7 separate regions of the Homo sapiens genome follow, and regions 1, 3, 4, 5, 6 and 7 are each linked to region 2. Evidence: promoter capture Hi-C in 16 types of primary human blood cells and fetal thymus (Javierre and others, 2016). All regions are on one chromosome and are shown on one strand. The core of a region is centred on a gene start or on the middle of the fragment in contact, and the rest is flanking DNA. Distances in the headings are between cores, read along the strand shown.

The links. The method cuts DNA at HindIII sites, captures the fragments that hold promoters and counts their contacts. A CHiCAGO score of 5 or more calls a contact.
Region 1: a fragment that was not itself captured here is called in contact with the fragment with the promoter of IL2RA in region 2 in 1 of 17 cell types (activated CD4 T cells); the score reaches 5.5 in activated CD4 T cells.
Region 3: a contact is called between a fragment that was not itself captured here and the fragment with the promoter of IL2RA in region 2, in 3 of 17 cell types (endothelial precursors, monocytes and neutrophils). The highest score is 5.3, in endothelial precursors.
Region 4: a fragment that was not itself captured here is called in contact with the fragment with the promoter of IL2RA in region 2 in 1 of 17 cell types (activated CD4 T cells); the score reaches 5.7 in activated CD4 T cells.
Region 5: a fragment that was not itself captured here is called in contact with the fragment with the promoter of IL2RA in region 2 in 1 of 17 cell types (total B cells); the score reaches 5.2 in total B cells.
Region 6: a fragment that was not itself captured here is called in contact with the fragment with the promoter of IL2RA in region 2 in 1 of 17 cell types (activated CD4 T cells); the score reaches 5.5 in activated CD4 T cells.
Region 7: a fragment that was not itself captured here is called in contact with the fragment with the promoter of IL2RA in region 2 in 1 of 17 cell types (activated CD4 T cells); the score reaches 5.3 in activated CD4 T cells.

The regions. Positions count from the first base shown.
Region 1 is chr10:6,505,112-6,508,884 of GRCh38, reverse strand. It overlaps PRKCQ (protein kinase C theta), which reads left to right. Exons shown (of 18, transcript NM_006257.5): 4 at 1,389-1,449. Among named protein-coding and RNA genes, the nearest start is that of PRKCQ, 73 kb to the left of the region's middle. The HindIII fragment of the contact is 3,347 bases long and covers 345-3,691 here.
Region 2 is chr10:6,060,260-6,064,195 of GRCh38, reverse strand. IL2RA (interleukin 2 receptor subunit alpha) reads left to right here and starts at 1,829. Exons shown (of 8, transcript NM_000417.3): 1 at 1,829-2,108. The coding sequence starts at 2,045. RefSeq lists a cis regulatory region at 1,446-2,076 and an enhancer at 2,069-2,118. The HindIII fragment of the contact is 7,385 bases long and covers 1-3,936 here.
Region 3 is chr10:6,422,660-6,426,248 of GRCh38, reverse strand. It overlaps a transcript of PRKCQ not described here. Among named protein-coding and RNA genes, the nearest start is that of LINC02656, 74 kb to the right of the region's middle. The HindIII fragment of the contact is 2,434 bases long and covers 1,062-3,495 here.
Region 4 is chr10:6,474,268-6,478,179 of GRCh38, reverse strand. The region is part of intron 12 of PRKCQ (protein kinase C theta); the gene reads left to right. Among named protein-coding and RNA genes, the nearest start is that of PRKCQ, 100 kb to the left of the region's middle. The HindIII fragment of the contact is 846 bases long and covers 1,484-2,329 here.
Region 5 is chr10:5,705,298-5,709,368 of GRCh38, reverse strand. All of the region lies in intron 1 of TASOR2 (transcription activation suppressor family member 2), which reads right to left. Among named protein-coding and RNA genes, the nearest start is that of TASOR2, 22 kb to the right of the region's middle. The HindIII fragment of the contact is 5,278 bases long and covers 1-4,071 here.
Region 6 is chr10:6,526,030-6,529,766 of GRCh38, reverse strand. All of the region lies in intron 1 of PRKCQ (protein kinase C theta), which reads left to right. Among named protein-coding and RNA genes, the nearest start is that of PRKCQ, 52 kb to the left of the region's middle. The HindIII fragment of the contact is 1,240 bases long and covers 661-1,900 here.
Region 7 is chr10:6,560,984-6,564,819 of GRCh38, reverse strand. The region is part of intron 1 of PRKCQ (protein kinase C theta); the gene reads left to right. Among named protein-coding and RNA genes, the nearest start is that of PRKCQ, 17 kb to the left of the region's middle. The HindIII fragment of the contact is 2,969 bases long and covers 1-2,829 here.

The DNA.
Region 1 (3,773 bases), core at 769-3,268, 440 kb before region 2:
TGTGACTGTTTTCATGGTTGTCTCCCATTCACTCCCCAAAATGTGCTGGAATGTGGCTTTCTATGGGTGCTGTTTTTCCAGTAGCTAATTGGTTTAATTTCTTCCATCACTACTAAGTACTGAATACTGCCAACCTTGTGGTCACCTGGTGCCAATTTTCATTATTCCATTTGGAAGCAGGCCCCTTACCATAGCTCTTCCATCTCCATTTTTGCCTCCATCTTTACTCCTTATTCACAAGCCAGAGAACAATGGTGCATACATGCCATGTCAAAAGCACTTTTCTTTTCATTAATCTGTTGAAACTCATATGAAAATTTATAGTTGTTGCAGCAATGCAAGCTTATTTTATCATAAAATTCTCATGGCAGTAATGCTGTGACATAGGCATTGCTATTATGTCTGTTTTTCAGAGATTTCCCAAGACTTAGTGACTTGCACAAGGTCACATAACCAGAAAATTATTTAGCCACGATTCAGATTCAATCCTGAGTTCCACAGGACATTACTTGCTATTTCTTAGTTACTCCGGCTCACGTGGATAACCCATGGACATAATGACCAATAATGACCTTCAAGTCATCTTCTTTCTTATTCTTTTTGGTCTGTTAATGGCATAGTGGGATGGTTTAATAGATTAACAACAGCGCTCAGCTTGTCTTGAACTTGGATTTGTCCTTTCTTCTCCTTATGTCACTTTATGGGAGATCCTACATCATCCCTTAAAATGACACTTTGTTCCGCCCTCTTCTACATAATAATACAGTACTGAAGTATGTATTTATATACATTTATAAATTCCTTCCCAGATCAGTGTAATTAGAATTTTCTTTAGTGGACCATCCAAGACTTTCCTAAAAATACAATCTCTCTTTGTGAAAGAGAAAAGCCATCCCCATTGAATGCCCTGATTAACCTAGACATGCATCCCAGGTAGAAAAGAAGACAGGGGCCTGGAGGCGGCCTCAAAGAGGCAGGATTTATCTTTCCCTCCAAAAGAAGAGCTTTTTCCCCAAGGAAGCCAGTCCCAGTGCCTGTGATTCTTTTGTCATGATGAAGATCTGGGTCTGCCCTGTGACAGTCCTTCAGATACGCAGCATTACAGGGCAAGAAAACCAAATAGAATCTGTTTTAGGATTTTATTTCTTCCTTATGTAAGTTTTTCTCTCCAAATAAAATTAATGAATTGCTGGGATGTTTTAAGAAAAGAAAGGCGATTGTCACGGTTGCTACAGTCGTCTGATGACAATGAGTTTGAGTACAGTGGAGAGTAACAATGATTGTATTCTGTGGTGGAAATCTCCTGCCATCGTCAGTAGCCAGTGATGTCATTGAACTCAGGGCTTGTTTCACATTCTGACTGATGTTTCTCTCCTTCTCCCAACCAGTTAGAGCTGAAACCTCAAGGCCGAATGCTAATGAATGCAAGATACTTTCTGGAAATGAGTGGCAAGTGACATTTCTTCTTCCTGTTTGGGGGTGAGGAGGGCATGGCCTTCTCCTCAAATGCAGCTTATTTTACCTTTGCAATTATTGTAGAAGAGAATCAGGAGAAAAGAGAGGCACAAAATTGTTTTAAAATTCTCAGAGGTGCTCAGGCATGACTTTAAAAGACACTATCTGGGCCGGAAAAACGTAGAAATATAAAACATTTATAGCACTTGTTTTAAGTGATGTGAATCCATATGCCCAAAGCTCTTATACTCTGTCTTTAGTTTAGTTTGGGAATTCAGTCTAAATACAAAAGACTGTTGATGTGTGGTTATGTGTGTACACATTGTCTATGGTTAAATGATGTGCTCTAAGAAGCTACCATATTATCAGTAGAATACAAAATAAGTAAGAAGTCAATCAATATATTCCATAAAATTAGTAACAAAATGCTAACACTTGAAGTTAGTCACCTCAAGTCCTTTTAGGAACAAGAAAAGGTGAGAAAACACATTGCTAAAGGGTTTTGATTCCATGTTACATGTGGACTTTGGCCACAGAAGTGAAATTTCCCGGTACGATGTGCTGAGACAGGCTGTCAGGGCTGTGTATGTGAATCAAATCCCCCTACTTAGAAAATCCTAAGTCACAGCATGGACATGTAAACTTACTGATGGTAAATTCACTTCATTTTTTCCTAAATTAATTTTACTACCAAGAAGAAGCAAGTTTAACTTTATACATTTATGGTGCTTTCTGAGTTTCGGCTTACCATATATAATTCCTCCGTGTCTAAATTCAAACAAATACATCAGAGAAAACAATATTATGAAATAATCATAGAAAACTTGAACACTCACTAGATATTTGATGATATTGAGGCATGGTGAATTCATCTTTTAGGTGTGATAATAATATTGCGGTTATGTTTCTTTAAAAGGCACACTGATCTTTTACATATATATGCTGAAATATTTTAGTAAAAGGCGAAAGATTTATTCGATCTGAAGAAAAACCAGTGAATAGCTGAAATATTTTAGATAAAATAATATGATACCATAGTTTTGCTTCAAAATAATCCAATGGTATGGGGTGTAGGATGGACAGGGTGTATTGAAAGAGAGTGGCCATCAGTTAATAATTGCTGAAACTGAATGATTGATATATGAAAATTGATTATAGTATTTGCTCAACTTTTAGGTATATTTGAAATTTTCCATAATAAAATTTTTTTAAAAGAAAGAAAGAATTACTGAGATGGGAAAAATGTACTCTGAAATTTTATTTATTTTTCCTCTTGGAAGGTGTAGATATACAGTACACATAGTACAACTTTTGAGTTGGCTGAAATAGAGTGATTGCAGGATATCCGAATAACCAGATTTGCATAAAATGTGAAAGTGCTGACCTAAATAATAGTATCAATGATGTTTAATTCCTTGAATAAGAGAAATACATTCCTCCCATTAGTTTAAATCATGACCCAATGTAAATTGAAAAAGGGTCTTGTCTGGGCATGGTGGCTCATGCCTGTAATTCCAGTACTTTGGGAGGCCGAGGTGGGCAGATCACTTGAGCTCAGGAGTTCCAGACCAGGCTAGGCAACATGGCAAAACCCATTCTCTACCAAAAATACAAAAATTAGCCAGAGTTGGTGGTGCGTGCCTGTAGTCCCAGCTACTTGTGAGGCTGAGGTGGGAGGATCGCTTAAGCCCAGGTTATTGAGGTTGCAGTGAGCAGTGATTTCACCAGTGCACTGCAGTGTGGATGATACAGTGAAAGAAAGAAAGGAAAGAAAGGAAAGGAAAGGAAGGAAGGGAGGGAAGGAAGGAAGGAAGGGAGAGAGAGAGAGGGTGAGAGAGAGGAAGGAAGGAAGGAAGGGGAAGGGAAGGAGAAAGAAAGAAAGAAGAAAAGAAAGAAAAAGAAAGAAAGAAAAGGAAGGAAGGAAGGAGGAGGGAGGGAGGGAAGGAAGGAAGGAAGGAGAAAAAGGGTCCTTCAAAAGAAAGAAAGAAGGAAGGAAGAAAGGAAGGAAGGAAAGAAAGAAAGAAAGGAGAAAAAGTGTCCTTCATCAGAATGCAAGTATTTTTGGTAAATGATTTTAAGATCCCTGCTTTGAAAAACAATTCCATGGATGGTCCTTCTATTCCTGTGGAACTTAAATATTTTATTAGAATGAGAGAGCAAATTCAATCGGGCAAAAACAATGATATTCCGTAAACAATAATGACATAAGCCTAGGAAATGTTTTAAGAATAAAGCTTTGGCCGGGCACGGTGGCTCACGCCTGTAATCCCAGCACTTTGGGAGGCCGAGGCAGGTGGATCCGAGGTCAGGAGACCGAG
Region 2 (3,936 bases), core at 580-3,079:
TACCAGAAAAATTGTGGGGGCTTTGTGATATGGCTTTAAAAAAATCTTGTAATTGCCAGGCGTGGTGGCTCACACCTGTAATCCCAGCACTTTGGGAGGCCGAGGTGGGTGAATCGCCTAAGGTCAGGAGTTCGAGACCAGCCTGACCAACATGGTGAAACTCCGTCTCTACTAAAAATACAAAAACTAGCTGGATGTGGTGACGCGTGCCTGTAATCCTAGCTACTCAGGAGGCTGACGCAGGAGAATCACTTGAACCTGGGAGGCAGAGGTTGCAGTGAGCCAAGATTGTGCCATTGCGCTCCAAAAAAAAAAAAAAAAAGACATTAACATAAATTTAAATATTTTATAATGACAATCCACATTAACTACTTAAAGCATAAGCTATTTTCCAGGAGAGGCAGCAAGTGCATTCTACTCCCATGCCCAAGAAGAAAGGAGCGTGACTTTGGTGGGAGTACTAGGAGTTTCTACTGGAGCACTTGCCCGCAGAGTGAGAAACGTTCCTAGAGAGGAAGTTATACCTGCTGTGGAATTTAAGAGAATCTTGTCATATTTTGACAAGTTTTTTGAGATGGAAGTCTCACTCTGTCGCCCAGGCTGGAGTGCAGTGGCGCAATCTCAGCTCACTGCAGCCTGCACCTCCTCGGTTCCAGCTATTCTCTTGTCTCAGCCTCCTGAGTAACTGGGATTACAGGCGCCCGCCACTACGCCTGGCTAATTTTTGTATTTTTAGTAGAAATGGGGTTTTACCATGTTGGCCAGACTGGTCTCAAACTCCCGACCTCAGGTGATCTGCCTGCCTCAGCCTCCCAAAGTGCTGGAATTACAGGCGTGTGCCACTGCGCCTGGCTAATTTTTTTTTTTTTTTTTTTTTTTTTTTTTTTTTAGTAGAGACGGTGGTTTCACCATGTCATCCAGGCTGGTCTCAAACTCCTGACCTCAGGTGATCCACCCACCTTGGTCTACCAAAGTGCTCGGATTACAGGCATGAGCCACCAGGCCCAGTCAACGTGATGTGTTTTGGAACCCTGAATTCCTTGGCTTGCCCGGAGGGTTTTCTTTTTGTTAATATCTTTGCTTGCTTTCTAGTATTTAAAAAATTGTGTTTTGCTCTAACTATGCAATGGCTTTAAGTCTTAGACAAATTTCCAGGGAGCAAAACACACTCAACCATTTCATAATAATCAGAAGAGAGCTCTGATCAATAAATAAGCAAGACTGAATTTTACAAAATAATCCAAAGTTTAAAACCAAAGCCCACTTTTTGCATGATCCTTTAAGAGAAAGAAATCTGGAAGCAAAACACCTTATAAAATGACAATGCACTTTCAGGAGCCCAGGGCACTGTGGTGAAATGATGATGGCTAGTACAGGTTATAAGCCTTGGGGAATTATTTATGAATTCTCAGGATCCTTCAGTTCGCCGCATCCTTCTCCATTATTTGAATATTGGAGGCTGCCTGACCAGAATCTTGTCAGGACTTTGCTCCTTCATCCCAGGTGGTCCCGGCTGACTCCTGAGGACGTTACAGCCCTGAGGGGAGGACTCAGCTTATGAAGTGCTGGGTGAGACCACTGCCAAGAAGTGCTTGCTCACCCTACCTTCAACGGCAGGGGAATCTCCCTCTCCTTTTATGGGCGTAGCTGAAGAAAGGATTCATAAATGAAGTTCAATCCTTCTCATCAACCCCAGCCCACACCTCCAGCAATTGAACTTGAAAAAAAAAACCTGGTTTGAAAAATTACCGCAAACTATATTGTCATCAAAAAAAAAAAAAAAAAAAAACACTTCCTATATTTGAGATGAGAGAAGAGAGTGCTAGGCAGTTTCCTGGCTGAACACGCCAGCCCAATACTTAAAGAGAGCAACTCCTGACTCCGATAGAGACTGGATGGACCCACAAGGGTGACAGCCCAGGCGGACCGATCTTCCCATCCCACATCCTCCGGCGCGATGCCAAAAAGAGGCTGACGGCAACTGGGCCTTCTGCAGAGAAAGACCTCCGCTTCACTGCCCCGGCTGGTCCCAAGGGTCAGGAAGATGGATTCATACCTGCTGATGTGGGGACTGCTCACGTTCATCATGGTGCCTGGCTGCCAGGCAGGTAAGGGCCTGTGGGTGCCCCCGGAATTCCGGGAAGGCTGATGGGCATCCCTCTTCCCAGCCACAGAACCAGAGGGAGTCCCCAGGTAGATGGTTCCAAGAAGGGAGTTGAATCTTGGGTTCCACCTCTTGCCTGTGACCCACGGGGACCCCAGTTTATGCCTCACTGTTCCTTGGTCTGTCAAGAGAGCCTGAAATAGCATTAGGTTCTCCTGTCCTTCTCAGTCCTTGACAATTAATTCTGGGAAGAATAGTGTGGCATGATATTTGGGATATTTGGATGTTAACAGGGTCCCGATGAGCAGGTTTCTCAAGAAATTATCTTTTATTCTTCAATGAATTTCCTTTTATTCTCTGCACTCCCACCCCCCAACTAAGAAGCTATCAGGAAGCTCTTTAAGTTCAGGTTAATTTGCTGGAGACATGAGTACTCATATATCAAACACTGGGAGAATTTAAGATCTCAGAAAAGTTTAGCTTCAAGGATGTATACACTGCTTTTACGTCTTAGGAAATAACACCTAGGAATTTCCTTACAAGTGCAACTTTACAGAAATTTTTAAAAATATGCATACTCACTTTTAGAACATTACTACTTCTCATAATCCTATGTATATACATGATATGTATATGTATACGTGTTTATATATGCAAATTTTAAATTTCATTCCTTGTTTCAAATGGATTTTCTCGAAGATTTTTTTTTTTTGACACTGTCTCTGTCAGCCAGACTGGAGTGCAGTGGCGCGATATTGGCTTACTGCAACCTTCGCCTCCCAGGCTTAGCGATCCTCCCACCTCAGCCTCCTGAGTAGCTGGGACTACAGGCATACGCCACCACACCTGGTTAATTTATTTTTTTGTAGAGATGGGGTTTTTGCCATGTTGCCCAAGCTGGTCTTGAACTCCTGGGCTCAAGTGATCCACTCACCCTGGCCTCCCATACTGCTGGTACTACAGGCATGAACCACCGTGCCTGGCCAATATTTTTTTTTAAAGAAATAAAAAACCACCAACTTCTACCTCAAACCACTCTTCCTAATTGAGTGTGAATTTTCTAATAATGTCTTCCCTTTGCTTACTCAGGAAGACAGATAAGAAAGTTTATAGTGTTTTTTGAAAGTCTATAATGGCAACAAGTAGAATGCTAACTGGCTGTAGAAAGAATTTATTAAGAAATGAAACATAATGATGCATTTCAGGAGTCTGCTTGCTTGTTTAGGGGAAGTGCCCAGTCATGCTGGGCTGTGTACTGGCCCAGATGTAGGAGTGTCTTTAAAGAGGGCATTTTATTTACTTATTACATTTTTATTTATTTTTTTTTTACTTTTTGAGACAGAGTCTCACTCTGTTGCCCAGGCTGGAGTGCAGTGGCGTGATCTCAGTCCACTGCAACCTCCACCTCATGGGCTCAAGTAATTCTCGTGCCTCAGACTCCTGAGTAGCTAGGTTTACAGGTGCGTGCACCACCACGACCAGCTAATTTTTGTATTTTTAGTAGAGATGGGGTTTCACCATATTGGTCAGGCTGGTCTCAAACTCCTGACCTTGTGGTCCACCAGCCATGGCCTCCCAAAGTGCTGGGATTACAGGTGTGAGCCATCGCGCCTGACCTATGTGTTTTATTTTAATAGGTTTTGGAGGACAGGTGGTGTTTGGTTACATGAATAAGTTCTTTAGTGGTGATTTGTAAGATTTTGGTGCACCCATCACCTGAGCATGTATGCTGTACCCAATGCGTTGTAAGATTTTGGTGCACCCATCACCTGAGCATGTATGCTGTACCCAGTGCGTAGTCTCTTTTCCCTCACCCACCTCGCACCCTTTCC
Region 3 (3,589 bases), core at 1,029-3,528, 360 kb before region 2:
CCGTCTCACTAGAGTGATGGGGTCGGTGAAGACGCTATCTAAAGTCCCTTCTCACTAGAGCAATGGGGTTGGTGAAGACGCTATCTAAAGTCCTCACTAGAGCGCTTTCTGGTTCTAAATCTGAATCAAAATCCTGCAAAGTTAAAAGGTCAGTGAGCAACACTTTCCAAAACACAGACACTCGTGGATTCCACTCGCTGCAGGCCTGGGGGCAGCTCTACCCCATTTTCCTTCCAGTCGTCCTCTCCTCACTCTGGGTTCCCACATACCCCTGCCCCAGCACCCAGCATCCTCCTGACACCCAGAGACCCCAACAGGACCCCTACCAGGAGACAAATAAGTGAAGACTGTTGGCTCTTAGAAACAGGAACCAACGCAACTTTTATCCCCTCCACTAGACCAAAATAAGGTCTATTCATCATTTGGTTTTGTTTGTTTTATTTTTTATTTTTTTGAATTAGAGACAGAGTCTCCCTATGTTTCCTAGGCTGGTCTTGAACTCCTGGACTCAAATGATCCCCCTGCCTCACTCTACCAAAGTGCTGGGATTACAGGCCTCATCATTTGTTTTTAATAAATGTCATCTGTATGAATATGTCAGGTGACTAACAAGCTTACTATTTGCTTCGTATTTCTGAGTGTGCGAAGTACTTGTTACTTCCTTCTATTCTTTCAGGTGTCCTCTGAAATTGCTTATTAATATCCCTATTTAATAGGTGAGAGACCTGGCCAGGTGCGGTGGTTCACGCCTGTAATCCCAGCACTTTGGGAGACCCAGGCAGGCAGATCATGAGGTCAGGAGTTTGAGACCAGCCTGACCAACATGGTGAAACCCCGTCTACTAAAAATACAAAAAATTAGCTGAGCATGGTGGCACGCGTCTGTAATCCCAGCTACTCAGGAGGCTGAGGCAGGAGAATCGCTTGAACTCGGGAGGCGGAGGTCGCAGTGAGCTGAGATCGCGCTACTGCACTCCAGCCTGGGCGACAGAGCAAGACTCTGTTTCAAAAAAAAAAAAAAAAATAGAGGAGAGACCTGAGGCCCAGGGAGACCATAAAGCTTACACTAGAGGGTTGACCAGTGGAGACTTGAACCCAGAACTCTTAGCATCAGATCTTGCTTCATTCCAGAGTGCAGGGTTTCAGCGACATCCACCAATCAGCATCTGATGATTGTTCACTAAAGTTTTAAGTGGACTTCCTAATTCAGGGCCACACCTGGCTTACCTGTCCCCCTTCTAGGGGACGCAGTGCGGGGGCCAGTCTCTTCGATGCCGGTCCTCTCATCACCACTCCCAGTTCCCCTCCACTTTGCACTTTAGCCTAGACTCAACCTTGCCAATAGAAATGAGAACTTTACCTCAGGGTATAGTTAAAGGTTTTGGAAAAAGAGAGATCAGTGCTTCTTTTTGGAAGATACAGACTGAGAGTTTGGCTGAGAGCTCCCTGTGCACGAGAGGCTGGCCACAGAGAGAGCATTGACCAGGATTTTCTCAGATCCCGTCCAGCAAGACCATGCTTAGGAGAGAGGAAGAAGTCGTAAATCAGCCAGAGAAGAAGAAATGCCTTTGTTACATCATAAAACTGCAGGCAGGGGTCTGAGCTCTCAGAGCCTCTGTCTCCAATGGACCCATCAATGATGGCCAACAGAGGAAGCATCAGCCTTAAACACCCACAGACCGGGAACATCCCAGAACCCACTCACAACAATGCAAACCAAGGAAGACTTCTCCTGCCACCTCTCTCCTTTCTCTGTCCTTTCCCAACTTCGGGGAAGAAGGAGCAGAAACCATGGTCATCGGACTGCGGAAGGAGAGGACTGAGCATGGGCGGGTGAGAAGTATGAAGACGCTGACCACGTGCCTTCCCCACCACAAGCCACCAGCACTGCCCTCTCGAGCTAGATGAGAGGACAGGGTCAACTTTAAATCGGTTTTCAATTATTCATGGCATTGCACATGTAAGTTACAGAAATGAATCTTGAGGGAGCAACTGAAGGACATGTCTAATGTCACCGGAAAGGTCATGGGACCTCTGAGATTTCAGCCAAAGTTTGGAAGAATGAGCCCCACAGAGCAGGTCTGAATGGATGGTGGGCGCAAATAATAAAGGTGTTGGTTTGGTTTGGTTTTGCCCCGAGAATTTTGCTTGTTTACACACAGACAAGCCCTAGAGTGACAGTGATGTTGCTCTTGGTGCCACAGCTACACAGGAGATTTCTTGCACGTAGGGACCACGCTCTTTACCACCGAGCCTACCACCCTGGCAGACACTCCTCCATCACGTGCATTTGTTGAGTGAGTGGGTGAATAGGATGTGGGTGAGCACGTCTCTACAATCCTCTGTCTGTGTGGGGCCTGGCACACGAGAATGCCTGGTGGAAATTACTTCGTCCTACAGGCACTACAGGATTAACTGGACTTAGGTATCAGGTCCTCTCTCCTGAAGAATTTTAGACAGAGGCAAAAACCAGATGGCCAAGAGAAGAGGCATTTGGTAAAGACCACAAGGCAGCCAAAGGGATGGGCAGCAGAAGCCAGGAGGTAGGGTCGGTCACAGTAGCAGAGACACAGGGTCGTCCTGCCACCGCAGTGTGGGTGACTCAAGGAGGGCTAAGACTAGCAACTTCCAGTAAGTTGCTCTCACTTCCCGGAGTTACTGAGGGGTCCCCAAGGTGCTGGGAGTCTTGCAGGCAGCCCTCCAGTCAGTCCTGTGTTATTCCTCTCTCTGACTCAGGGAACCATCCTGATGGGCAGCAGCCCCCAGCCGACGGCAGGCCGGGGAATGAAGCCACTGGCTGCTCTCCTTCCCTCAATGCCGTCTGCTCAGTCTCCTGGAGGGTCAGTGATGAGGGAAGGAGCCCCAACTTCCTTGTTTCTCCCTGCGTCCTAAATAAGTCCGGAACCCAAAGAGACTGAGTGTGTCCCTGGGGCATGCGTGTGCCTGTGTGTGTATATCAGAGCAAGACACCACACTGCCGTGAGCACCAGGCTGGCTGACTCATTGTTCCCTACATGCCTGATGTCTGCTCCTGCTCTAGGGCTTTTGCTCATTCTCTCCTACCAGGCTGAAAGGGCCAACACATCTCATAAACAACCCCAAAGCCAACCCACCCCAGGCCTGGCTGCAGCATCAGCCTCCTGCCTTTGCTGACCACACCAGCTGTTGCTGTCCAGAGATGCCTCCCACCTCTATTTGTCCTCTGAAATAAGCATAGTGAAGAGCTGGGCCAAACTCCCAGAGCCCAGAGATATTTGGAAATGGAGTAGGCGCCACCCAAGTTTGTTTCTGTACAGCACCCAACTCACTGTCTGAGAAGGACCCTCAGAGGTTGGCAGCAACTCCCACCAGGGGGTCATCTGAGAGGCACAGTGACCACAGTGATCAATGATGTCTCACCATGAGGACAGGAAGGAAATGCCCAGCCAGGGAACATGTTTTCTGCCCCCAGCTTCTGCCTTCCATGTCGTTTCTTCACTCTACTGCGGATGAAGCTTTGACTATAAAATATGCTGTTGGAATGCACCAACTGCCCTACTCCCAGGTGGCAGAAGGAGAGCTCAGTTTTCCTTCTGGAAAATTCTTGCAAT
Region 4 (3,912 bases), core at 657-3,156, 410 kb before region 2:
TCTATTTTGAACATTTTCTTACGTCTTTGGATATTCTACAACGTGATTTAACTAGAACATCTCTAATTTTTTGTTCTGATTTAAATAACACTAAAATGAACATCCTCGAAGATTAGTTTTCATGCACATGCATTATGATTCTTCTTACTGGTTTGTCTCCTCTCTGCCACCCCATCCCGGCTGTCCACCACCCGCACTAATTAGCAGCCTCAAGTGGGACCATATGACTAAGGGCCAAAGAACACAAGGGGCGGAGGCTTTTCCATTTTCTGTTTTCTTTCTTTTTGTTTGTTTGTTTTGTTTGTTTGTTTTGAGACGGAGTCTCACTCTGTCGCCCAGGCTGGAGTGCAATGGTGTGATCTCAGCTCACTGCAACCTCCGCCTCCCGGGTTCAAGTGATTCTCCTGCCTCAGCCTCCTGAGTAGCTGGGATTACAGGTGTGCACCACCACACTCAGCTAATTTTTGTATTTTTAGTAGAGACAGGGTTTCACCATGTTGGCCAGGCTGGTCTCAAACTCCTGACCTCAGGTGATCCACCCCCCTCAGCCTCCCAAAGTGCTAGGATTACAGGCGTGAGCCAACGCACCCAGCCCTTTTCCCATTTTCTATCTCAAGCCATGACGACTGGAGAGTGAATGAGGGAAAACTTCTAAGGAGACTTGAGCCATGGGAAGAATTAATGAGGGAACCAGGGAATGAATGAGGAAAGTGGATGGCAACTGGGGCATCCATCACCACCTCTGCAGTTCCCAGTAGATTCTCAGCATATGTGCAATAACCAAATCAATGAATAAATGCACTTACCTAAGATAAAGAGAAGCCAGACCATGGCAAAGCACTTACTGAGCATATGCTGTGCTCAAAGCACTGTGGAGGATACAGAAGTATATAATACAGCTCCCGACCTTGAGAACTTCACACTCTAATAAGAGTCAAGGCTGCATTTCTAACAGTATGAGTAATATTAGATCAGAAGGCAGACACAAAGTACCAGAGCTGAGAGAAACTAGAAAGAGGAATTTGAATGGGCAGAAAGGGCCTTGGGCATGAAAGGTGTGGCTGCAGGAGAGGAAGTAGAAAAGAGTGAGGTGTCCTGGTCAACTATTTAGGAGAATGCAGGCCCGCTTCCTGCTGCAGGGAGCAGGCTGGAACTTCCCATGATGAAGGCTAGAAGAGATTTTGTACTAGAAACTCCCTCCTGGAGATGATAAATACCCATTGGCCTGGGAGGGTGAAGGTATGTCACCTGCAGGCAAAGGGACAAACTCTGCCACCCTCTCCATGCTGTTGGGAGGGTGAAGGTATGTCACCTGCAGGCAAGGAGACAAACTCTGCCACCCTCTCCGTACTGTTGTCTAGATTTTCTGCACATGCTGGGGCTCCCTGTAATCTTTTCCCTTTGCAGTATTTTGAGGCTTGTAGCAAACTGCTAAACACATTTTTTCTTTTTTGCCATAAATAAAGATTTTTACTGTAAAGCTTTCATAGTAGCGAAAAATTGGAAACAACACAAATACCCAATGACAGATTTATTGAATAAATTATTATATGGTCAGAGAAAATAATACTATATAACCATTTTAAATGATGATGTAAATGCTTAAACATCAATACAGAATGTTGTTTATGAAATCATAAGTGAGAATATATAGTATTTCCTTTTAAGCAAGAACATTTGCATGTATAAGCATGAAAAATAATGAAAAACTAACAGTTGTTAATTGGGAGGTAGGATTATAACTGATTTTATTTTTATTATATCTTTCTGTGTATGTTACTATAAACACATTTTAGACTGGGCTTCTGGGCACTTAGGCAGTTGTGCTTCTCTTGGTGCCTTTTCCCCATTTTTTTTTTTTTTTTTGATTTGCATGTATGACAGTTTTCATGTCTTACGGGGAAGGCTATTGGGAATCCCACTTTGTAGAAGATAGGTATGCTCCTTTCTCTTGCCTGTCCATCACAGCTTCAGGCAGCATTTGTTTCTGTCCCTCTTATGAGAGATCTCCTTAACCCATTTATGCCTGAGGTTGCAACTTTTTGAATTTTGAAATCAGACCTTGGTGATGACCTTGAGCAGTAGGATATAAATAACTCCCACATGCTTAGCGTTCCAATAATGGAACACTAGGCATAAATGAGTTCCGTGCAGCTGGGATGCTTTACCAAGACCTGAGCCACAAGTGCATCCACAGCATTGGTGCTGGGAGAGAAAAAAAAACTTCAGCAGAGAATGTTTACATGAAATGTAAATCTGACTGGCTCAAGACTCAGATCTCAAGGAACTGAGTCCTTTTAGAAAGAGGAAAGAAACAAAGGAAGAAGCTTGAATCACCTTTTCCAACACCCCGAGTTGTTGTTTTTGAGATGTCTTAATTATTCAAACCTTGCTTGTCAAAGTAACTGATTAAATACCACAAGTGAATGCAAAAGGCAACGATTGATACGTGATATGGATAATGCTTTGTTCTGGGAACATGTTGGGAATGACCTTTCTTGGGAGGACAGTTACCTGTGTATGCTAGTGTAGACATCAGATAAGATAAATTAACTATGTACTTCTCCAGGGCATTGTTATTTTTTAAAGGAAGTTATTCATCTGCTCTCTGCCTCCAAAGAGCGCACCTGTTGAATACCAGATTATTCAGGAGATTCTGAGGACAGGTATTCACTTGTTATTAATTAGGGTCATTTGGATTAAATTGTTAAAGTTTTTAAAGTTCCTAGATGAGGGATATATCACCTATGGAAGGGTGAAAATATGATAAAGCCATTTAGGAAGCTACAAAATGTGAAAATTCCTGTGGACTTGGATTCCGAAGTTCAAGCCCAGCTCTGCCGTTTATCAACAGGGCTCTGAGGCACCCACTTTACCCCTGCCCAGGACAGAGAGTAAGAGTTACAGGCAGAGGGGCTGGGAGCTGTAAAACCAGGGGCCCTAATGGGACGGCACCGTCTGGGGACATAGATGTACAGGATAATTCATGAAATCTGAACCTGAATCTGAATGAGGCTCAAATCAAAAGAATCTTCACAATGAATTTTCTGTGTGCTAGATCAAAATGACTTTGTACATCATCCAGGCTCTGGCATAAATTACTGGCTCAGGGTCTAACGTAGATCAGCATTCTGAGAGGCTGCTGTCTTGGCAAGAGGAAAGAAGGGCTAGCTCTTCTTTCTTTTACTTTTTTTCTAACATTTCTTTGTTGTTAATATTTACATTTTCTGTCTTACAAAGTCTGCAGGGCTTGAAATTGCACGATCCCTTCTCAGTACCCCCTTCAGTGCGGATGCCAGCCAACTTTTGCACTACTAGATTTCCAACTTAGATTTTTAACAGTTTCCATTACTTACATTTTAAAAAGTAAAAAAATAGGAAAATCCACAATAAAATTTGTCTACAAGAAGAGTTGTCATAAATCTTTTAACTATCCACTTACAAGTAGATTTAAAACAATTAGAAAAAAATAATTAACCATAAAACTTTGAAACACAGGGAAAAATAAACACTGAAACAGTTTCCCTCTTTTTAGTTATGCTGCAGTAAAAGAAAGATTAATAACTCAAGTATCCAAAGTTTCTGTGTTCTATCTCTGATAAAACTGTGGAAAAATAAGAGGATTTATTTCTAAAATTTGTTTGGAAAGGAAAGATGCATCTAACACAGTAAGGATGCTATTTCTTTTTAATTTCAAGGAAATAATTTTCCCTTAAAAATTAAAAGTGAACTAAAGTCTACCTTCCTCTGTGTCTCCTTTGAATTCTGAAAGGCCGATCTGTATTCTGACATTTAAGTAGTGTTACTATTTCACACCTAAGTAGCTCTAGATCCTATAGGAACAGCTCTGTCTCTGGGTCGTTCCCTCAGGTTGGATTTGAGGGCAGGCCGCCGTGGTTTTGCAGGCCTCTG
Region 5 (4,071 bases), core at 705-3,204, 350 kb after region 2:
TATAAGCTATAACACATAATCTGAAATGTTTTTCCTCCAAAAGTCTTTAACTTCTAAAGAAAATTTTGTACACAGAAATATATTATGCTTAATCGCTTTTGCCTTACTGAAAAAAAATCTTTCAAAATGAAGAGATCACAGAACCACATCTTTATTCCACTAGTTGAAAATAACGGAATCAAGCAGAACACAATTTACAAAAATCTCTCTCCTCCCCCAAATTAGTTGTATATATATTCATTAAACAAAACTATTAGTGGTGACTATTATGCATCCAATATCATGCTAAATCTTGGATTTATCAAGACAAATGGCAAACAGTCTCTATTACAGGGAAACAGGCTCTACATTAAAAAAGTTCAGATTAGGCTGGGCGAGGTGGCTCATGCCTGTAATCCCAGCACGCCGGGAAGCTAAGGCAGGCAGATTGTTTGAACTCAGGAGCTTGAGACCAGCCAGGGCAACAAAGTGAGACCCCACCTCTATAAAAAATACAAAAATTAGCCAGGCATGGTGGAGTGCACCTGTAGTCCCAGCTACTTTGGAGGCTGAGGTGGGACGATGGCTTGAGTCTGGGGGGAAGAAGTTGCAGTGAGCTGAGATTGCACCCCTGAACTCCAGCCTGGGTAACAGAGCCAGACCATGTCAGAAAGAGAGAAAGAGAGGAAAGGAAAGAAAGGAAGGAAAGGAAGGAAGGAAGAAAGGAAGGAAAGGAAGGAAGGAAGGAAGGAAGGGAGGAAGGGAGGGAGGGAGGGAGGGAGGAAGGAAGAGATAGAGAAAGAGAGAGAAAAGGAGAGAAAGAAAGAAAAAGAAAGAAAGAAAGAGAAAGAAAGGAAAGAAAGAGAAAGCAAGCAAGTTAGCTCAGAATAGACAAGGAAGAAAAATCTGCAAAGAAATTAGTACTATAAATGTGTAGGAGTATCTAAAACATGATATAGTGGATGTACAGTGATACAACCAATTTTATGGAGATGGAGCTATGTCAAGAAAGATTTCATGGAGGCACAGATACTTGAAATCTGGAAGATATTCCAATGAGGAAGCCAAAAAAGGAAACTAGTGTACATTTTCTAGATAGCAGAAATAGTATGAGCAAATGAACAGCGGTTTAAACATGATACATTAAAGGAACTGCAAATAGTTTAATATGACTGATTAAGGGAAGAAGGGAGAGAAGAATAAGAACGAAGAAAAAGATTACAAAGGTGGTCAAGTTTTCAGTTTTTATCATGAGTCTGTGGAATAAGGATTTTCATATGCTTCACAAAAACAGCATGTATAGTTTTACAGCACATTTTCCCCCCAAAAAGAACTGGAGGTAGAATTGTGTGGATACATTCAAAATTTTTTAGGAAAAGTAGCTATGTTGATAATAATTCATGAAGGAGGTTGTTTATGTAGGGGAAAATTAGGAATAGGGAGACCAGGGTTCTGGTCTACCTATTGAACTCACTAGGTGCTACCACTAATGTGTTTTGAGACAGTGGTTAAAGACACATTGGATTGACTTCCCAACAATCATGTCCCTTTTACTTCCCTTCCATAAAACCACAATTTTGTTCAGGTATCAGGTTATCCCATGGTTCAGAAGAAGTGTGTGTGTGTGTGTGTGTGTGTGTGTGTGTGTGTGTGTGTGTGTGTGAAAATGAGTGAGGGAGAGTGAGTATGTGTGTGTGTGGGGTTGGGGGGGGAGACAGAGAGAGAGAGAGAGAGAAAGAGAATGAGAATCTTAATTACTCTAAGATCATTATGGTAATTCCACTCCCTTTGAATAGTGTTTGTTTTAGGAATAAACATGTGACTCAGTTCTGGCCAGTGAGATATAAATGGAAGTCTACAGAGAGAGTTCTGGGAAACCTTTCTTAGAAAAGGACTCCATCTTCTAGCCTAGGATCTTGTCTGAAGATGTGTTGCCTGGATCTCCTTGCAACCAAGATGGCAGCCAACATAGAACGGAACAGAACAGAAAGAAACTAGATCCCTGAACTGATGAAATAAACTAACCTGGGGGCTGCCTCATCTTTGGGCTTTATACATGAAATAATAAATGTTCCTTATTGTTTAAACTTTTATTGGAAGCTGAAGACATACTAACTGATGGATTTTGTTAAATTTATACTCTCTAAGGCCTCCTTTAGTTATAATTGCCTTTCTAAAGCTCCTTTCAGTTGTGACTCTACAAGGAACTTTACTGAAGGCTTGCTGTGCATGAGGCATGGTGCACTGGCATCAGATAACTTAGCAAATTCCTTTTTTCTTTGCTGCCATGGATAGAGACGTTATCCTAGTATTTGTTAGCAAGGAAGCTATTGTTATTAATGATAACAATGGCTAACATTTGTTGGGTGCTTACTTTTTTTTTTTTGAGACGGAGTCTTGCTCCGTGGCCCAGGCTGGAGCGTAAGTGGCTTGATTCTGGTTCACTGCAACCTCCACCTCCCGGGTTCAAGCAACTCTCTTGCCTCGGCCTCCCGTGTAGCTGGGATTACAAGTGCCCAGCAACATGCCCGGCTAATTTTTGTATTTTTAGTAGAGATGGGATTTCACCATGTTAGCCAGGTTGGTCTCGAACTCCTGGCCTCAAGTGATCTGCATACCTCGGCCTCCCAAAGTGCTGGAATTACAGGCATGAGCCACCGTGCTAGGCCTAGGTTTCACTACTTAACTGTATGTATTAATCATTGCTGAGCCATACTGTGTAGTCAAGTTCTTTCCTTATACCGTGTTTTGCTTTTCTGAATTTAAAATAGCTTAATTTTCAGTTACCAATCATTATTTCAGCTTGAAATTCTAGAGAACTAACAATATCCTCTGGATAAAGATAGATCAAAGATTTTGTCTGTTTTGAGCAGCTTCTTTTCTTTTTTTTGGAAGGACCTTTCTGGAGCACTATGTCTTCCAGCTTCAATCTGGGCTTGTGCCCTCTGATATTACTGCCTGGCTTTCTAACTTTGCTGGGGGATGTTAAGACACAAAATTGATCTACAGATTCAACACAATCTCAGTTTGCAGAAACTGATGATCTGATTCTAAAATTTATATAAGAAAGATATAAGCCAAAACAATTTTGAAAAAGAACAAAGCTGAAGGACTCACTACCTGATTTTGAGAATTACTACAAAGCTAAAGTAGTCAAGACAAGGTGGTAATGATACAAAGAAAATGCATATAGATCAATGGAACAGAATAGAGTCCAGATAACAGATTTTCAATATTGCCAGTATAATTCCATTGAGAAAGAATATCTTTGCAATAAATGCTGCTACAGAACAACTAAAACGGAGGAAAAAAACATGAACCTCAAACCTCTACCTTAAACCATAAAATTTAACTCAAAATGAATCACAGACCTAAACATAAAAACTATAACTATTTGGCTAAAATTATAAAATTTAAAAAATCATAGGAAAAAATGTACTTGACTATGGGGTACATAAAGTTTTCATAGGGCACAAAATTAGTGACCTAGAAAAATGTATACATCAGACTTCCTAAAAATTAAAACCATCTGATCTTCCAAGGTATCATTATTAAGAAATGGGAAATATTTGTAAAGTACCTGTACCTAGAATATATAAAAAACTCATAGACACATTTCACAAAATAAAGCATATAATAAAAAGAAACATGGGAAATGGGTCAATATTATTAGTTATCAGGGAAGTGCTAATTAAAACCACAATAAAATACTACTGCTCCAGTAGAATGGCTAAAAAGACTGAAAATACCAAGCGTTGGCAAGGATGAGGAGCCTCTGGAACACTCCTAGTAGAAATATAAAGCCAACTGAAAAATTATATAGCCAATTTAAAAAATAACATCAGTTTCTTATAAACACATACTTACCATATGACCCAAAATTCTATTCCTAGATATTTACCCAAGAGAATAAAACATATCCACAAAAACACTTGCACATGAATGTTCAGAGCAGCTTTTTCACAGTAGCCTAAAACTGGAAGCAACTCCAATATTCATCAATAGGTGAATGGATAAACTTGTATATTCACACATAATAATAATCAGCAATTAAAAAAAGTAAAACTGATATATGCATGCATCTCAAAACAT
Region 6 (3,737 bases), core at 31-2,530, 470 kb before region 2:
TACCTTGTTTTGCAGATATGATAATGTAGTCACAGAAAGATTAAGTCACTTGTCCAAGACTGTACAGCTTGGAAACTGATAGAGCTGGCCTATACTCCATGACACCAACATTTACAAACTGCAAGCTCCTTCACATGTTAACTCCTTCCTGGGTCTCTGTGCCTTTTTGAACTCGGCCATGCAAAGGTTCGAGAATGGCAAAGCCTCATGCCCAGGGGCTTCAGATCCCCTTCTCAGTCTAGGTACCCTTTGACCAGAGCACCTGAGTCCCTGGCCCCAACTTGACGCCCCTGTTTTGGGTGGTGTGCTCTTCCTCACTGAGCACCTACATGACAGGAAGAAATGTCAGGAGGACTGCAAGGGATCCAGCATCTCAGTTAGAGCTGCTGGGTCACAAGATGGTAGAGTCAGAGAGAAGGTTGTCTTTTCAGAGTAAATTTTGACACAAGAAGCAGAGTCCTACATTTCCATTTACTCCTACAGAAGGCAGCATCTTTGTGTCTAGTAAGTGATTATCCTAACCATGGTTAGAAAATGATGCCAGGGAGGCTGAGTTCCTCCCAACTTTATCTGATGAAGTTAGCTTCTTTCTAGACTTTGTCCATAGAAATCCTCATTGATCCCAATCAGCCACTTCTAAAGGCATGAATGGCAGAAGCTTGGAGGGAATTGCACAGGCTTATGACATGCTGAGAAAATTACCCAGATAGGCACAGGCGCCCTGACATCCAGAAGAGAACTTAGGGTATTCCGAGAAACTCCATCTCTGTTTATATCACCCAATTCTTCATTCTTCAAACCACAGCCATGGAGTAGAAAGAAAGATCATTAAGCCCCAGGTACAAGGAGAAACATCCTAATAGTGCTTAAGATAATTAAGCAAGTTGCCAGGAAAGCCTGTCCCTACAGTCATAACATGTCCTTTGCAAGTAGGGACAGGTGGGAGCAGACAGAAACAGTCTACAGCGAAAACTCTATGCATTCATGTCCTCCCTGACCTAACCTTCAAAGACATTTGCTAACAAGAAATAACGTATTAGTTTGGGTGGAGACACTTAGCCACCAAAGCTGGGTTCAGGTGCTGTTGCTTACTCACTGTGAGTCCTTTGCACAGTTTTGTGGGTTGTGGGAGATCCAACACATAAGCCCTCTTGGCTATGCTTGTGCTTAGAACAAACGGAGAGGCAGATCAGGAGACAGGGAGATGGAGAAGCATGTCCACCAGTTATAACAAAGGCCAGATCGATGGAGATGGCTAAAACGTTCAGGCAAATAAGTTGGTCGTCTGTTCACAGCGTCCCAGGCGATGCTGGACTGTGTCAGGGACCCTCTCACCCCTGCCAACCGAGGAGGATGCGCCCCCACCCCACCCCAGCCTATGACATGGCCAAGGATAGTGCAGAAATGGTTCTGCAGATCAGCAGATCCTGCAACATGAGAAGAGGAGGGTGGAGATGGGTGGGAACGGTTTATTCATGTAGAACATGTTAACCAAAAAATGAGTGACTGAGGCAAGTTTCTCTATCAGTTGAGGTTTATTGAGCTAAAGTTTGAGGACACACCCGGGAAAAACACCAGCCCCAGAAGCACCTGTGACCTGTGCTTTCCAAAGAGGGTTTTAGGAACTCAGTGCTTAAGGAGAGGGGGCAAGCAGGAGGGAAGAGGGAGGAGGGAGGCAGTGAGGCTCTAATTAGCGCTTACCAAATCCATGTCTTACATAAGATAAGGTAAATGTGTGAGAACAGGGAGCAGAGGAACAAATCCATTATGCACCTGCCTCAGAGTCAGGAGAAGAGTGACTGATCTCAGCTGGCCCTTCTTCTGTACCTGGGAAGATGAGCTTGAAATCAACATTGTCAGTTGAGTTCCTAAAACAGAACTCAGTTTTAGAAGTTAAGCTTAGGTTGCAGTCCTAGGGTTGCAATCGGCATAGGCTTGTTTTGTAGGGGAATGTGGATCCTGAAGGATTTAGGGGCCAGAAAGGAATTTCCTCGTAAGCAGTGTGTGACGGTGGCCATCTGGGAGAAGCTCGGGGCCTTTTGTCATTGTGGGAGCCTGGCTTACGTAGAATGCTGTGACACAGGGTTGTGAAGTGACCGCTGTCTCCTGGGGAAAAAGAATGGCACGGTGGCAGGACTTGGCTTCCAGGCTTACCTCTCCCCTTGGCATAACTGGTTTGGGGGGCCTGAGATTTTATTTTCTTTTACAAACGTATCCATCAGATCAATCACTCTTCTTCCTGGGGTACAGGGATGAGGAGTGAGGATAGGTTAGAGGGATGCAAGCCTCTCTGTTTGAAAACACAGGGAGGGAAAATATGAGCCTTCTCATAATGACCATGATTAGCAACTGCTCGGTAAGTGATGGGTGCTGTTGTCCTCATAACCAACATCATCATCATTACAGTTTTTATATCTTTTACTGACTGCTGTTTTCTAGATATGGAAATTATATGACATAGACCTCAAATATCTAGTCCCATGATTCCCAATAAGTACCCACTTGCCCAAGAAGTTTCAGTACCTGGCTGCTGAAAATACAACTTTTACATCCTTAGTTCATGTGTCTTAATTCTTGATTCAGAAAAGCTATCAACTGTATTCTCCATATCTCAAAGTTAACGTGTCCAAAATAAAATGTCTCATCTTCTCATGCCATCTAGTTCTTCCCGCAGTGCTCCCATCTTGTGAATGGGGATGGCCTCCTACCATGGGTTGGGGCCCCAAACCTTGAGGCCGCCCTGCTCCTCCTTTTCCCTCCCCTCATCTTCAGTGGCTTGGTACATCCCATCAAGAGATATCGGAATCCCTGCACGCTGCCAGGGTCCTTCTGCTGGTGCCCTCCGACCATCAACTGGAAGAGTGAAGTCGCCCCCAGTAGTCTCTCTTCTTCTGCACTTGCTCCTTACAGTCCTCTCAACACAGGGACCAGGGTACCCCCTTTCTAGGTGTAAATAAGTCTGCTCTGCACTCAAAGCTGAAGACAGCACGTAGACCCCTCGGGCGGTGTCCTACCTGAACTCCAAGTTCTCACCATGGCCTGTGGACAGCCCCATGGGCACACCCACCTCGTCTGTCTTCTCTACCCCTTGCTCAACTCCACGCAGCCCATCCGCCTTCCCAGAACGTGCTTGGCAGCTCCGACCTCACACCCATGTTTCGGCCGGGAACGTTCACCTGCCATTGTCTGTGTGACTCAGTCCTCTCCTCGTGCAGGTCTTTACTCAACGTCATTTCACAGAGACCCTTCAGGACCAGCAAAGCCCTCCCTGCCGCCCCACCCAGCACTCCCCACCTCCCTCCTCTGCTTAGTTTGTTTCATGGGAGTCACCTGGTGTATTTCATATTATATTCTTCTGCTTTCTTGTCTGTCTCGTGCATCTGGACCTCTGCACAAAGGATGGGTTTTGTCTCTTTGGCTGACTGCAGTGTCCTAAGACACTTAGTGCCTAGTAGCTCTAGTAACTGTTTGTTGAATGAATGAATGAGTGAATGGATGCATAGTCACTAAATCAGAAATCGTGGATACTGTAATCATAGAACATTAGGTCATAAATACCAAGGATCCTGAGGAAGAAGAAGAAAGAATATCTATGATTTGGACAGCCATTTTTCCAATTGTGGAACATTGTTTAGCATTTCAAATAATGAAAATAAACACATATAGAAGGCTTACTATGTGCTGGGCATTGTTCTGTTTTATACATATTAACTCGTTTAATCTGTGCAATGCACGTA
Region 7 (3,836 bases), core at 96-2,595, 500 kb before region 2:
ATTTGACATTGTTTATTTGACCCAGAGCATTGCTTTGAAGATATCAATTGCTATGGAACAAACTGCTCCCAAACTTAGTGGCTTAAAAAAACAGCACCATTGTATTTGTTCTTGATTCTGTGGGCTAGGGATTTGGGTCAGCCTTGGCTTGGCGGTTTTGGTCTTCAGAGCATCCCTAGGGCCCTCTCATAAGGTTGCAGTCAGACCTGAGATGAGGTCACTCCCTTATATGGCCCCTGGGTGGATGCAGCTAGGAGGTTGAGATTCCCCCACCCCGTCTTCCTCCATATGTGGCCCCAAAGTAGGAAGTTCCTGCTGCTTTGGTCTTTGGGTGAAAAACAGGTCACGGGCCAGGCAAGATCAAGGAGGGGCAGCAGAGGGCACTTCTGGGCGAGCAGTACAGTGGCATCGCAGAAGGACAGGTGGGAGGGAAAGGGATAGGCTGCAGCAGCTGCCTTTGAAAACGCCATCGAGCAATAGTATTGCAGCCATTTATACCATAATATTTCCTACAGAGGACCTCGTTTAGTTTCCGAGATTGAGCCTCTAGTCTCGCTCTTCACACCGCTGAAGATGTGCGGTAGAGGATCTTGCTGAAACGAAAATGATTGCTGCACTCCCCTGCAAAGCTCTTTGGTTACTCCATATCACCTGCAAAATAGAATCCCGAATCTTTGCGGGGCCCGTGAGTTCTTCCCAGCCTGTGCCCTGCCTGCCAGACTCAGGTTTCCCTTGGGTCCTTGAGCACCTCGTAGCTCCCCAGAAGCCTCTTGCATTTTACAGCTCTGCACCTGATCCCAGGCCTGAGTGCACTTCCTCACGCTCACATCGTTACTTTGCTAACCCCTGAGACCTCACCTCCTCTGCAAAGGCCCCCACGGGCTGTGTCAAGGTGTCCCTCCTCTGCGTGCCCTGGCATGCTGTGCACATGGACAGCTCAGCAGCACTAACACACCCTTCCTCCCTCCCCAACTGCACTGTGAGCTCCCAAGGGCAGGCTCTGCATCTCTTTGTCTGTCTAGCCCCTAGCCCTCGGCTTGAGCAGAGAGTCCCACACATAGCAAGTGCTCAGTAAATTTTGGTGGAATGTCAGCTCAGTATAGGTAAATGACAGAGTGGAGGAGTGTCGGAGGGAAAAGACCAGAAAACCCTGTACAGGAAGAAGGCGGTGTGATCCCATGGAGAGTTGGAGCCTGGGGAGGCAGGAAGAGGAGGAACAAAGCGGTGGGCTTAGACTGCAATTGGAGGCTGAGAGCACTCTAGGTAGTCAAGAGACGCGAACAAGCATAGAAAGTAAAGCAGAAAATCTGATTCGATGTAAGAGAAATCGAGGCATGTGTCATGGTGAGGGGCTTATAGGGAAGAGGCAGTGACAAGGTAGGAGAGATGGCCCAACATCAGGACGGGCCATGGAGACCTGTCCCCATGGGGAGAGCCCTGACCTGGACTCAGAAGGCAGGGCACCCAGAATCCCACCCACGCACCTCCAGACATGCAGTAGAGCTCAGTCATAGTAGGCATGCAGTAGACCTCCCTGTCACCGAGAAGAGGAGGAGAGGCACTGGGCAAAGTGAGGTTGCTGCTTCCGGGACTCTTGGAACTGTGAGACTTACGCTCTGAAATCCTAGCTGTCACTTACTTCACTTTCGACTGAATATCTTCACTCTTGAGCCAAAGTGATTGCATGCCTTTAAAGTGAAACTGTGCGCTGGGATCTAGTTGACAAGGGACAGGGGCTATTGTTTTGTTGGGGGAGGGGAGGTGGCAGCTGAGAGCCAACCAAGGAAGCCCACCTTGAAAGAATCCATAGCCTTTTTTCAACAAAAAAACTAAAAAGTAATCACTACAGAAAATATTTTAGTGCTAAATCTTGGAAGAAAACATGATGAGTGTTCTTTTGACTCTGAGTATATAATAATTATAGCTAACATAGACTGAGCTTTTTCTGTCTACTAGTAACTGTTCTAATCACTTTGCATCCATTAACCCATTTAATCCTATTATGATCCTCATTTTTCAGATAAGAAAAGTGAGGTTAAATAGCTTGTTTAAAGCCACAGAGCTACCATACAGCAGAACTGGAATTTGAACTCAAGCAGTTTGATGCCATGATCTGTGTTCTTAATACTCCATGTAGCAAAGCCTGATTTTGGGACTATACCTTATCTACTGACTTATGTTTAAAAATACTACCTGACATTGGAGTTAATTCTGAGAAGTGGGTTTTGAGACTTCCTTCTCCCTTTATATCTCAATTACTGTTTGGGGCTATTTCCTTGTTTTGCTGTCCAATGTATTACTTATGTTAGTAATGGAGAGAACACTCACTCTGGTTGAGCATAATCATCAAGCCGGGAGCTCTGCTAAGATCCAGTCGGCTTGGCTGGGTTCTTCTCCAGGCATTCTCTGCTGGGCCCTGAAGCGTGCGTCTCTCTGCTGAAGCATGTGAACATTCCTCCTGGTGTTTAGAGAGATTTGGAAAAGGCTGAAAAACCGCATGGAACTCCGGAAGTTGTTGTCTTTTCAGGGAAAACTTGTGAGGGAGACAGGAGATGGCCACAGTGGTTTTCTTTGGGGTCCAGCACTGACCGGGGCATTTATGAGGCTGCCCTGCAGGAGAACCACACAGATGAGTTCATAGACAAGCCTGAGTGGGCTTCTCCTTCGTTCTTCCTTACCCACGAGCGTCCACCTCAATCCCTCTCTCTTTCCTTTCCGGTATCTCCAGATGCCAGGTCCGTGGCTCAATGTATTTCCTTCCTACCAGCATTATTTTGAACTGACAATGTTGTAAATTTTAAACTATATTTTAAGTAAACCTTAAAAGCTTATTTTAGAATCCTAATCTGCTTTTTCAGACTTTTATTCACCTCAGATCTCCAACTCCCTTTACTTTTTGCTTGAACTCTCCTCCCTTCTTCCTGCTTTCCTCAACTCTTTCATGCTGTGTTTAATAACATGCTAAACACATTAAAAACAGCAAGTTCTATCATATCAACATACATGCCCACACCCACACACATACGTACTGACGACTGTCACTTGCAAAGAGCTGTTAAGAAGAAAGTTTGTTTAATTAAAAACCAGCGAGAATGGTGGCCAGATTAACATTCTTGAGTCATAACTTGGAGGTTTGAACTTCAACTTTATGGAGCCGTTCTGAGAATTTAAAAAAGTAATCTATTCTGTCATACTGTGAGATCTACATAAATTATTTTTTGGCATAGGCCTTTGTAACTTTTTAATTGACTTTTGAGTCAGTGTGTTTCTGTGTATGTAAATCAATTGTAGGTTCACGTCAAATTTCTGATTGTCTCAGATATGTATTGTTTAGTAATATTTGACAGGGTCCTGAAGCACAAGATTCCAAAAAGTTCAAAAAGATACCCTTATTCAAGGAAACATTTCTTTTTTTCTTGTTTCTTTTTTTTTTTTTTTTTTTTTTTTTTTGAGACAGGGTCTCACTCTGGTGGTCCAGGCTGGAGTACAGCACAATCTCAGCTCAATGTAGGCTGCACCTCCCAGGCTCAGGTGATCCTCCCACCTCAGCCTCCTGAGTAGCTAGGATTACAGGTGCACACCACCACACCCAGCTAACTTTTTGTATTTTTAGTAGAGACACAGTTTCGCTGTGTTGCCCAGGCTAGCCTCAAACCCTTGGACTCAAGCAATCTGCCTGTCTTGGCCTCCCAGAGTGCTGGGATTACAGGTATGAGCACCCAGCCTCAAGGAAGAATTTTTTAGTCAGCAATTTGAAAAGAATAAATTTTTTTTTTTTTTTGAAATGGAGTCTCCCTCTGTCGCCCAGGCTGGAGTGCAGTGGTGCAATCTCGGCT